Linked DNA regions of Homo sapiens: regions 2 and 3 are each linked to region 1. The links are contacts of gene promoters, found by promoter capture Hi-C in blood cells and fetal thymus (Javierre and others, 2016). All regions are on one chromosome and are shown on one strand. The core of a region is centred on a gene start or on the middle of the fragment in contact, and the rest is flanking DNA. Distances in the headings are between cores, read along the strand shown.

The links. Contacts are between HindIII fragments. The CHiCAGO score rates a contact against its expected background, and 5 or more counts as called.
Region 2: a contact is called between the fragment with the promoter of LINC00659 here and the fragment with the promoter of OSBPL2 in region 1, in 1 of 17 cell types (fetal thymus). The highest score is 5.2, in fetal thymus.
Region 3: the fragment with the promoter of OGFR here is called in contact with the fragment with the promoter of OSBPL2 in region 1 in 1 of 17 cell types (neutrophils); the score reaches 6.4 in neutrophils.

The regions. Positions count from the first base shown.
Region 1 is chr20:62,237,112-62,240,938 of GRCh38, reverse strand. OSBPL2 (oxysterol binding protein like 2) reads right to left here and starts at 2,418. Exons shown (of 14, transcript NM_144498.4): 1 at 2,342-2,418. RefSeq lists an enhancer at 669-1,593 and a silencer at 2,291-2,690. The HindIII fragment of the contact is 17,411 bases long and covers 1-3,827 here.
Region 2 is chr20:62,774,867-62,778,383 of GRCh38, reverse strand. LINC00659 (long intergenic non-protein coding RNA 659) reads left to right here and starts at 1,528. Exons shown (of 3, transcript NR_046225.1): 1 at 1,528-1,578; 2 at 2,998-3,069. RefSeq lists a silencer at 2,060-2,221. The HindIII fragment of the contact is 9,640 bases long and covers 1-3,517 here.
Region 3 is chr20:62,803,488-62,807,027 of GRCh38, reverse strand. It overlaps OGFR (opioid growth factor receptor), which reads right to left and starts at 2,193. Exons shown (of 7, transcript NM_007346.4): 1 at 1,998-2,193. The coding sequence starts at 2,168. OGFR-AS1 (OGFR antisense RNA 1) reads left to right here and starts at 1,441. Exons shown (of 3, transcript NR_102430.1): 1 at 1,441-1,560. RefSeq lists silencers at 1,260-1,319, 1,470-1,639, 1,700-1,849, 1,930-1,999 and an enhancer at 1,515-2,420. The HindIII fragment of the contact is 9,717 bases long and covers 1-3,540 here.

The DNA.
Region 1 (3,827 bases), core at 1,169-3,668:
ACTGTACGCCTGTCAGCACCCATGCCCCTCAGTCCTCCCTCTTCACACAGAGACCACCACTGAATCTGCCAGTAACAAAGGAGCTGGGTGGCAGGGAAGGTATTCTGGCAAAATCCTGAATGGTCAAACGGTAAATTACTTTATTTCAGAAAAAATGAAATGGCTTTGTAAACACTCAGGCTCACAAAAAAGAAAGTCTATTAGTTCTATATGTAGCAAAATCCCGAAATTCTGACACAGAGTAATGCAGCATGATTAGAATATTCTAAACGAAAATGTTAAATGAAAATCTTGATATTAAAAGGCAGTACAGGGTAGTGTTTAAGAGTGTGAACCCTGGAGCCTGGGTTCAAATCCATATTTCATAATTTACTGCTGTGTGGTTTAGGTAAGTTACTTAACCTCTCTGTTCCTTAGCTTCCTCATGAATGAACTAAGGATAATGTCAGTACCTGCCCAGTGGACTGTTGTGAAGATCACACAAAGAAAGTGAATACGACATGCTCGTAACAGTCCTGGAACAATCATTATTAAATATTATCGTCTGCTGGGGTAAGAGCTGTCATTAATAGATGGACACATGAAGAAAACAGGGTAAATTCTATGAGGGAGACTCAGTCACTCACTCACTCATTGCCACATTCTAAAAGACGACACTGTGGCAGGCACTGGGCTGGGCAGGGAGGAAGTGCCACCGACAAAGTTCCTGTCCTCAACAAGGGGAAGGTAACTGGCATTCCGGGGTGCGCACTAGGTGTCAGAGACTGTGGTAGAAAATGATTTCATGGCAGGGCGCGGTGGCTCGCACCTGGAATCCTAGCACTTTGGGAGGCTGAGGCAGGCGGATCCCTTGAGGTTAGGAGTTCGAGACCAGCCTGGCCAACATGGTAAAACCCCATCTCTACTAAAAATAAAAAAATTAGGCGGGCGTGGTGGCCGGCGCCTGTGGTCCCAGCTAGATGGGAGGCTAAGGCAGGAGAATGGCTTGAAGCCGGGAGACGGAGGTGGCAGTGAGTCAAGATCGCACCACTGCACTCCAGCCTGGGCAACAAAGCGAGACTCCATCTCAAAACATAAAACAAGAAAATGATCTCGTTTGCTTCTCTTATCAGCAAAGTGCTACATGTCCGGATGAAGGAGTTGAGGCTGACAGCCAGAAAAGAGGCCATGGGCACGAGTTAGGAAGGGCAGCAGGGACGGCCGTGGCTTCCCAGCATGTGGCCCCTGCACCAGTTCCGGGCTCCTCAACTCTCCGCTGTCCTCACCACACATCCAGCTGGTGGGAAGGCCGCACAGCACCCAGCCAGGCCCACAGCAGGCATTCGAGAAACGTCTATCCAACCAAACCGAATGGGACCCCTTCTCCAGGTGTTCCGGGCAGTCATCCCAAAGCTGCCGGAGCCAGGCTAGGCCAGGGCCTGTCCTAGAGGACGGTTCAGATAGAAACGCCCCTGGGAGGTGACCCTCACCCCAGGAGAGCCTGCAACACCCCGACACCCACTGCCTCGTCGCCGGTCCTCCCATGAAGCGGGGAGGCTGAGGTGCTGTGACGACCTAACAGTCTTGGTCTGGGCTTATAAACTTGGAAAGTCTAAAGACGTATTCTTCTGAGTACCAAAATATAACTGGCGAAAGAAGGAACCTCTTAAAATTACATTACCAAAGATAGGTTTTAGGTAGCAAGTTCTCAACCGTGTGTAGTCTGCTAAGATTTATAAATTAAAAACAAAAACAGAGCCCAGGGGAACGGACAAGGGCTCGCGGGCACCCTCCCCGGGACGACGTGCACACAGGCCTGCGGGACAAGAAGGCCAGGGTCGGAGTGGGACTGCGTCTCCCTGCCCTTCTTCCCGGCGGAACTCGCCCTCCTCACCTACAGGATCGCCCTAAATGCGCACGAAATCCTTCCCTGTTCCCGGTGAGGTGGTGAGAGAGGGCGAGGCCGCGAGCAGGTGCGCCCGTCCCCACTTCCTGCTCAGCGGGGCAGCAGGGGGGCTGGGGATCTCGGGGGGGCCGGGCCGGGGGTCCCGGGATCGCAGTTGCCGGGCGACCGCAGGGGGAAGGGTGCGGGGGCCGCGGGACCCAGGCCCAGGCCCCACGCCCGGCCGGAACTTTCCTCCCAAAGTTTCCCCGGGGCGCCAGGCTGCGGCCTAGGCCGGGCGCGCCTCCCAGTGGGGGTCGAGGCCGGGGCCGGGGCCGGGGCTGGAGGCGGCCTGCGGACCCGGGTCCTGCCCGGCCCGCCCTCCCCTCCCCGCCCCGGCTCCAGCCCCAGCCCGCGGCCCAGGCCCCGCAGCTCGCCGGGGTCCCGGGCCTTCGCGTGGCGGCGGCGGGGGCCACTCACCTGGACGCGGGTCCCTCGGTTGCCGGCCGAGCTCACTGCCGCCCCGCCCCCGCCCCGTAGGCCCGCGACCCACTGACACCGAGGCGGAAGTGCGGCCCGCCGCCTCGCCGACTGACAGCCCGCGCCCGCCACTCGCTGCGCCCGGCGCCGCCGCGTCGGCCGCTGCCTGCCCAATCAGCGCCCGGCCCGAGGCTCGCGCCGGGGGGTGGGACTATGCTAATCCCTTCGCGAAGGGCCTCTACCTGTGCCCCCTCAGAGCCCCGCCCACGCAGCGGAGTGACGGCAAGGACAGCCAGTCACAGCAGGAGAGAGGCGGGGTTATGCCGCCCCTGAGCCAAAAGGGGAGGGAGGCAAGGAGGAAAGGGCGTGGCTGCAGAGAGCAGAGTTGACAAACAGTGAGTCAGGTGGCCCGGGGCGTGGGTGCTCCGCCCTCAGGTGCACTGCGTCCTGGCGGCAGTGCGGGCCTGCGAGGCTACCCAAAGCCCTGGGGGCTTTTTCCTACAAATGCTGGGGACCGTGCGATAGCTGGGGCGTAGCTGCTTCCACTGTCCTACCAAATCCTGAATATCGTCCACCTCCTTTGCATGCCATTCACCGCCAACCAAAATCCAGCGCCAATTTACCCCTCCAGCTGCATCCCCGACCGTTTCACCACCATACTTAAAACCCTTTGGACTCCCACTGACCTACAGTGGCTCCAGGGTTAAGCCCAGAAGTTCTGGAATCAGACCTGGAGCTTGCATTCTTTACCAGCTGTGTGGATTTGGACAAATTAATTAACCTCTCTGAGTCTGTGATCACTCAGTTTCATCTGCAAACCAGGGTTCCCCTGTCAACATCTCATTGAAGTCATGGGTCTGGTTTGAGGTGAGTGGAGTGGCATAAACCAGGCTGGCTACATAGTCACAGCAGTTGGTTTAGGGGTCAGCCTGTGACCCAGTTCTAGCCAAAGAGGCTCAGTCCTGGGACTTTTGCTGTAGGGTCAGAGTTCAGACCGGAGGGGAGGCTGAAGTCAAATGACTCTCCCATCTGCCCACAGACCTCTCCAGAGCTGGGTTAGGTGAGAGAGGGAAGGGGCCAGTCTTCCACATCTCACTACCCGAGAACAGGGCTGCACGAGAATGAAGCCAGCCCAGAGGAAAGCCGGAGCAACCACGGCCGGGTCACGTGGACCCTGCTGCACCTCAGCAGGTCCTTTCCTTGACTTTTCAGTTACGTGAACCACATGCTTGTTTCTGCTTCAGCCCATTTGAGGTAAAGCCAAGAGTCCTGGGCTTCCTGTGGCCTTGAGAGCTCTGGCAGATGACCCGTGACCCCGCAGTGCGTCCTGCAGCAAAGCCAGCCCCCGTTGGGCCTCTGCACCCCCTCCTCAGGCCTTGTCTCCCCACTTCCAGGCTGCCCCTAGCAGGGCCATGGAGGCAGGGACAGGCCTTTGCCCCATCTGTGGCCCCGTGGCAGACGTGGGTACTCTCTATAAATTTCAGGG
Region 2 (3,517 bases), core at 279-2,778, 540 kb before region 1:
ATCGAATAGGCCAGGGAACCACACCATCAGATAGATAGGCTGGGGACCACACCAACCACACCATCAGATAGGCTGAGGACCATGCCATCAGACAGGCTGGGGACCATGCCATCAGACAAGCCGGGGACCATGCCATCAGACAAGCCGGGGACGACGCCATCAGACAGGCTGGGGACCAAACCATCAGATAGATAGGTCGGGGACCACACCTTCAGATAGGCTGGGGACCACACCATCAAATAGACCAGGGACCAAGCCATCAGACAGGCCGGGGACCACGCCATCAGACAGGCTGGGGACCACACCTTCAGACAGGCTGGGGACCACACCATCAAATAGACCAGGGACCAAGCCATCAGACAGGCCGGGGACCACACCATCAGACAGGCTGGGGACCACACCATCAGACAGACCGGGGACCATGCCATCAGACAGGCCGGGGACCACGCCATCAGACAGGCCGGGGACCACGCCATCAGACAGACTGGGGACCACGCCATCAGACAGGCCGGGGACCATGCCATCAGACAGGCTGGGGACCACGCCATCAGGCAGGCTGGGGACCACGCCATCAGACATGCTGGGGACCACGCCATTAGATAGACTGGCCAGGGACCATGCCATCAGATAGGCTGGGGCAAAGCCATCAGACAGGTGGAGGTCCATGCCATGGGGCATGAGGTGGTGTCTGTCACCTGGTCCGGGAGCACAGTGTTGCCCATCCGTGCCACCTCCCTGAGGCCCTGGCAAGCATCATTCTCTAATGCAGACAGATGGCTGGGGCGCCAGCAGGAGCCAGACTGCCGCGGAGCAGGAACTGGGCAACTAAGGGTGATTTGGGCCGTAGAGAAGTGATTGATGTGGACAAATGGAGTCTGCAATGCAGGCCCCACGCCACCCTGGCTCCCTGTGCGAACCCAGGGCTCTGCTGCCCTGGCGGGGCTGACTCCATGGACGAGGTGGCTCATGTAGGGCTGGCTGGAAGTAATCATGTCACCCCCTGCAATCATGCCCCCAGGAGATTAGAATAGGACCCTGATCCCTCGTTTCTGTCCTATCCCCTCCTTTCCGTCCCATCTCCTCCTTTCTGCCTCATCTCCTCCTTCCTGCCTCATCTCCTCCTTCCTGCCTCATCTCCTTCCTGCCTCATCTCCTCCTTCCTGCCTCATCTCCTCCTTCCTGTCCCATTTCCTCCTTCCAGTCCCATCTCCTCCTTCCAGTCCTATCTCCTTCCTGCTCCCATCTCTTCCTTCCTGTCCCATTTCCTCCTTCCCGTTCCACCTCCCTGTTCCCATCTCCTCCTCCTGTCCCGCCCCCTCCTTCCTGTCCCGCCCCTCCTTCCTGTCCCACCCTCTCCTTCCTGTCCTGCCCCTCCTTCCTGTCCCGCCCCCTCCTTCCTGTCCCGCCCCTCCTTCCTGTCCCACCCCCTCCTTTCTGTACCTGTTGACCTCATCTGGGCTGCAGTTGGTGACTGCTCGAAGGGGTGGGAGGAACAGTATAAAGTCCTGTCCCCTTCCTGCCTTCAAGGGCACCCCTGAAGGACCATATCCACTGTGGACCCCCTTGGGATCAGCCGAGGTCTGTAGAGGTGACATTGCAGCCCAGCACCTCCCTCCTCCGCCCTGCCCTCCTCTGTCCTCCTTCCACAGGTGTGGCCAAGGGCACTGCCCAGTTGGCCTGTGACCCCCAGCTGAGGCTGCTTCCTGGGCAGCTGACTTCAAGTTTGTGACCTGAGCTCTCCAGGCCCCCGAGCGGCTGGTGCCTTGGCCCTGCAGTTCTGCGGCCAAGACTCCTCCTCTGGGATCTCGTCTTACCCTGCTGCGGGTGCCAGGGCTGCATGAAGCAAGGGCGAAAGTCCCCTTCGCCCGGGCGCTGCCCTCTGCCTGCTGTCCCCTGTGCTCCTGTTCCCCGTGGCTGCCCAGGGACAGGTGTGTGGGATGGAGGACGCGGGAGAGGCTGAGTCCTCCCCAGTGGACCCCCAGATGCAGACCCTGAGGCAAGGGAGAGTGAGAAAGTGAAGGAAAGAACACAGCTGGAAATGCAACCAAGAAGGAACCCCAGCCCGGACCACTGTGAGCAAGGAGAGCCGAGCCCCGGGGAGCCCTGAGACAGTGTGGGAGTGGAGGCCTGGGGCGCCTCCAGGCAAGGCAGCGGGATGTCTATGCCCCAAGCCCTGCCAGTCGTGGATGGAGACGCACACTTTAGTGCGGGCTCCAGAGACAGAGGGAGCCCCAGGCCGAGAGCTGTGGGTGCTGGGCAGGTGGGCATTGGCCAGCATTGCCCCCACTCATGGCGGGTCCACCTTAATTCGACGGGTGTGACACTCTCCTCACACATGTGCACATTCAAGAGGCAACTGTCTGTTTCTATAACTGGGTGCATTTCGGTCTGGAGCCGTCGAGCCGGGTGGTGGCCATGAATCCCAGGCAACTTGGGGGGCCCAATCCAGGGTTGCCTTTTGGGGGCCTTGGGGCGGCTAGTGCAGTTCCACATGCTGTTAAGGACCTTGAGATGGGAGATTATTCTGGATGGTCAGGGTGGGCACAGTTTAATCACAGCCCCTCTAAGAGGGACTGGGAGGGTCAGGGTCAGAGGAGGAGAGGGGACGACGGAAGGGAGAGAGAGGCTGGGAGATGCCGTGCAGCCAAGGAGGGCAGGAACCTCTAGAAACCACAAAAGGCGAGGACACAATCTCTCCCCTGAGGCAGAGACCCAGGGCTGCCCCGCACAGTCGCGCAGATCGTGTACTGCCCTGCTCCTGGGGCTCATTCACACAGGTTGCCATGGCTGTGGGGTCCCTGGGGCTGGGCTATCTGCCAACCTGGGGGACGCTGCACCCTGTTTTCTGTCCTGTCTACTCCAGCTTTTCACACTCTCTGTTGCCCTTGTCCTTGGGCATCTCAGTGACTCGAAGGAATTGGGTCTTGAGACACAGCCGAGCCTGTGAGCGCTGACCTGTGTAAAGAAGACACCAGAATGAGATGTCTCCACACACAGAGAGCTGCAGCCGATGCCGGCCGGTGACTTGGGACTTGGATGCTTAACAGGAGGCTCCCCCTCTCTTGGGAGGTGAGGATGGGGTTGGGAGCATGTGTCTCAGGGGCTGGCTTCACTCGCTCCTTAGCCCCAGCAGGTGCATCTCCCCCCTGCGAGGGCCTGGTTGCTGTAGTTCTTCTAGAAGGCCGCACTGAAGGGACCCTCTGATCCTCATGCCAGCTCTTAAGACATGCTCCACTCTTAAGACAGAGACAGGAGCTCCCGGGCTCGTGCACACCCTCCCTCTGCGCATGTCCAGGACTCAGGGTCACAGCGTGGGCTCGTGATCCATGGGGTGGGACTCCAGCCTGCTCTGCCTTGGGTTCTGAGGCCAGAAGCAACACTTCCCTCATGTGGGTCCTCACAGGGACCAAGTGGAAGACTGGCGGGGGCGGGGCCCCAGAACTCCACCCACATTTGCACACTCAGCCTTCCCACGCCCAGCCACAGCTTCCATCCATCATCATTGTCCTGTCATGGT
Region 3 (3,540 bases), core at 944-3,443, 570 kb before region 1:
GCAGGGTCTAATGAATGAATGCCCCTTCCCTGCCCAACCCCACGCCTCACTGGCCACGGTGAGGGCAGGCCCTGAGTCTCCAGCCTCCAGCCCTGTCTAGTGATGGCTTCTCAGCAAGATGTCAGGTCCCCTTGATGCCCCAAGCCCTTCAGCCCCCATCTCTGCAGGCCAAGCATCATGGGGCTGAGCAAAGGGCCGGAAGTACCTAGTGATGAGGATGGTGGGACACAGCCCTGACCTTGTGATGAGGGTGGGGGGCCTGGGGCTGAGCCTCACTCGGTGGGTAGGGCAGGAATGGGCGTATTTGTCCAGGGCAACAATTGGGACCCAGGATCCTGGGGGAGTGCTAGAAGGGGGGTTAGGAGGCCCGGTCAGCCACTGTATCCCCTGGCTCCCCGCTGAGCTCCAGCTGGGACCTGGCGTTGCCTCTCTGCCTGATTTTTCTTTCTTATTTTTTTCCCCTCGAGATGGAGCTTCATGCAATCTCCACCTCCCAGGCAATCTCCACTCACTGCAACCTCCACCTCCCAGGCAATCTCCACTCACTGCAACCTCCACCTCCCAGGTTTAAGCGATTCTCCTGCTTCAATCTCTGGAGGAACTGGGATTACAGGTGCCCATCACGCCTGGCTAATGTTGTATTTTTAGTAGAGACAACAGTTTCACCATGTTGGCCAGGCTAATCTTGGACTCCTGACCTCTGGTGATCCGACTGCCCAGGCCTCCGAAAGTGCTGGGATTACAGGCCTGAGCCACCGCCACCGACCTCTCGGCCTGATTTCTCAACAGGGCCGCTGGTGTGGTTCTCTCGCCCCGCCTGATCATCAGTTTCTACTTCTCCTTCCTGGGGCCAGCGGGAGCCTCCCTGGGTCAGTTCTGGAGGCTGGGTCCTGACTGGATGTGGCCACACAGTCAGCCCACAGGTGCATACATGACACTGCCCAGGAAAAAGTGAAACAGCCCCGCCAGGGTCCAGCGCAGGCAGCTGGGGAGGCCTGAGGGGTCCAAAGGGGAAGGGGAGGGGCTTGTGGACAGAAGCCACAGCAGGAGGCAGAGGGAAGAGGTCAGGGGTCACGGGCGCCTGGCAGGATGGTCAGGGCCTCTGAGCACCGCTTCAGGAGAGCGGCCTGAGGAACTCCAGTGAGGAAAGCCCGTCAAGAGCCCACCCAGGGGTCACACCGTCCTGTGGGACAGAGCCAGACCCCACCCCCCTGCCCAGCCTGCCTGGCCGCTGCCCTCCCGGCGACAGGGCGGAGCCCCTCCGTGCTCTCTCACTGCCCGCTCCACCATGGCCAGGCGCAAACGCAAACAGTGCTGGGTGCCAAGGGGAGAATCCATGCGGAGCCGTCGAGTTCCATGCACTTCCCGGCCCTCCGCAACCCGGGCAGCTCAGCTGGAAGGCCGCTCCCAGATCAATCCCAGCTCCCCGACAGGGGGGCCGGACTGCGACAGTGTGGCGTTCCCAGCGCGGCAACAAAAGTAACCCCGGCGATGACAGGCGCCCGGCGGTAACAAAAGTAACAAGCGGAGGCCCCGTCGGCCCGCCCCGGGCTCCCGCAGGTGCAGACGCGAAGCCTCCCAGGCCAGACCCGGCCCGGGCCCCAGCCCCAGCCCCAGCCCCAGCCCCAGCCCCAGGCCGCGGGGCCTGCGCAGGGGCCGCCAGGAGGCCGAGGCGCGGGCCCGAGGCGGGAGGGGTTCCATCAGGGGCGGCCACGGCGGCTGGGGGCGGGACGCGCCCGAGGCACCCCCGGGGGGAACGGCGCCCACACACGATGGGGCCCGGGAGGCTCAGCTCCGCTGTCACCCACGCGCGGCCCCCGCACTTCCCCGCCGGGCCCTGGGGCTGGGGGTCGGCCGGTCTGGGGGGGGGTCCCCGGGGCTGCGGGAGCTCCAGGAGGCTCCAGGTGTCTCCGCCCGGGATGGGGGGGTCTCCCGTCCACGCAGCCGGGCGGGGGGCGCCGGGGACCCCAGGCCTCTTCCGCGCCGCGGGGCCGCACCTGGAACGAGCTGGGCCGCGCCGCCCGCGGCTCCTCCGACTCCTCGTCCTCGTCCCCTGCGTCCGCGTCCCTCGCGCCGGCGGCCTCGCCGTCCTCGCAGTCCTCGTCCTCCGCGTCCTCCGCATCCTCCTCGTCCTCCTCCCAGGTGGAGTCGCAGTCGGGGTCGTCCATGCTCGGCGGCGGCGGGGCTCGCGCTGGAGGCGGAAGCGAAACCGAAAGCAGAGGAAGCGCGGGGGGCGGGCGGGGGGAGGGGACGGAGCGGCCCAGGCCCCGCCCGCGTCCGCGCGCAACGCCCCTCCCTCCCCGGGACGCCCGCCCCGCGCCCCTCCCTCCCCCGAGAATCCCCCAACGTCCGCCCGGGAGGATGCCCCTCGCGGAACGCCCACCCCCACCCCACGATGCCCACCCGGGAGGATTCGCCCCACCCCGTCTCGCAAGGATGCCCGCCCTAGGAGATCCTCCCTCCCGAAAATGTCCCCAAAGCCTGCCCGCCCCCCAGAGGACGGTCTCCCCGGAAGATGAGCCGGGTACCTAGGAAGGATGTCTTCCCGACGATGTCCTCCCAGCAGGATTCTCTCCCCGGAGGATGCCTGCCCCGCAGAGAATCCCCTCTTCCAGGAATATTTCTGTCCCCCAAGAGAAATCCCCCCAGAGGATGTCCCCATCAGAAGAATGTCCCTTGGAGGATAACCCCCGGAGGGGCCACGTGTCCACAGGGGCCTCTCTCCCTAAGCTGGGTGTGTAGGGGTCTCTGTCCTTCTGCTGCGGGCTGGGGGCCTTACTCAGCTCCTGGAAGCTGCTGGCGGACCCCTGTCCCTCCATAGGCAGTGCAAAGCACGGCCGTTTTCTTTTCAAAGCCACCAGGGGAGTCTTTCTCTCTAGGGTGCCGAGTCTTATATAACCAGGATGACATGGGCAAGCCGTGGCTTCCTTCACCTTTGCCGCCATCTCTCAGTTGTAAGAAGGCACTTAGGGGAGAGGACCACACGAAGCCTGGGCCACCGGGAGGGTCACCCTGGGGACTGTTCAACACAGCTGATGCCAGTTCAGCGCCTCCTCAGGGCCCTCTCTCTAAGCACTGGCAGATATGGGGCAACACAAAGTCACTTTCACCTGCCATTTCCCAGCACCGCGGGTCCCTTGCTCATCCACCTTTGACATCTGCTGGCAGATACATGGCAAGGTTGGTGACCTCTTGAAATAAAAATCAGGAGTGGCCACTCCAGATAAATTTCTTCTGTAACTGCTATACCAATTCATTTCAAAACATTTAGGTAAAACTAAATCTGGATTTTGGACTTGGCCATGAGGATAGCTCCTCGCAGAGTTGTCCCTGTAATGATGGTGGTGGAAAGGTGGAGAAGGCCCCAGCCCAGCCCCTAGGGGACACTGCCATCTCCTAGCCCTGCAGGCCTGCTGGGCCTGGGAACTGGTGACATTCCTTGTACTGTGTGCCAGGGACAGCCGTGAACGCAAGTCTTCCAATCCTGGCCACAAGTACAGGTTAAGGACCCTCTGGGTGCTGGGCCCTAATCTTTGCTGA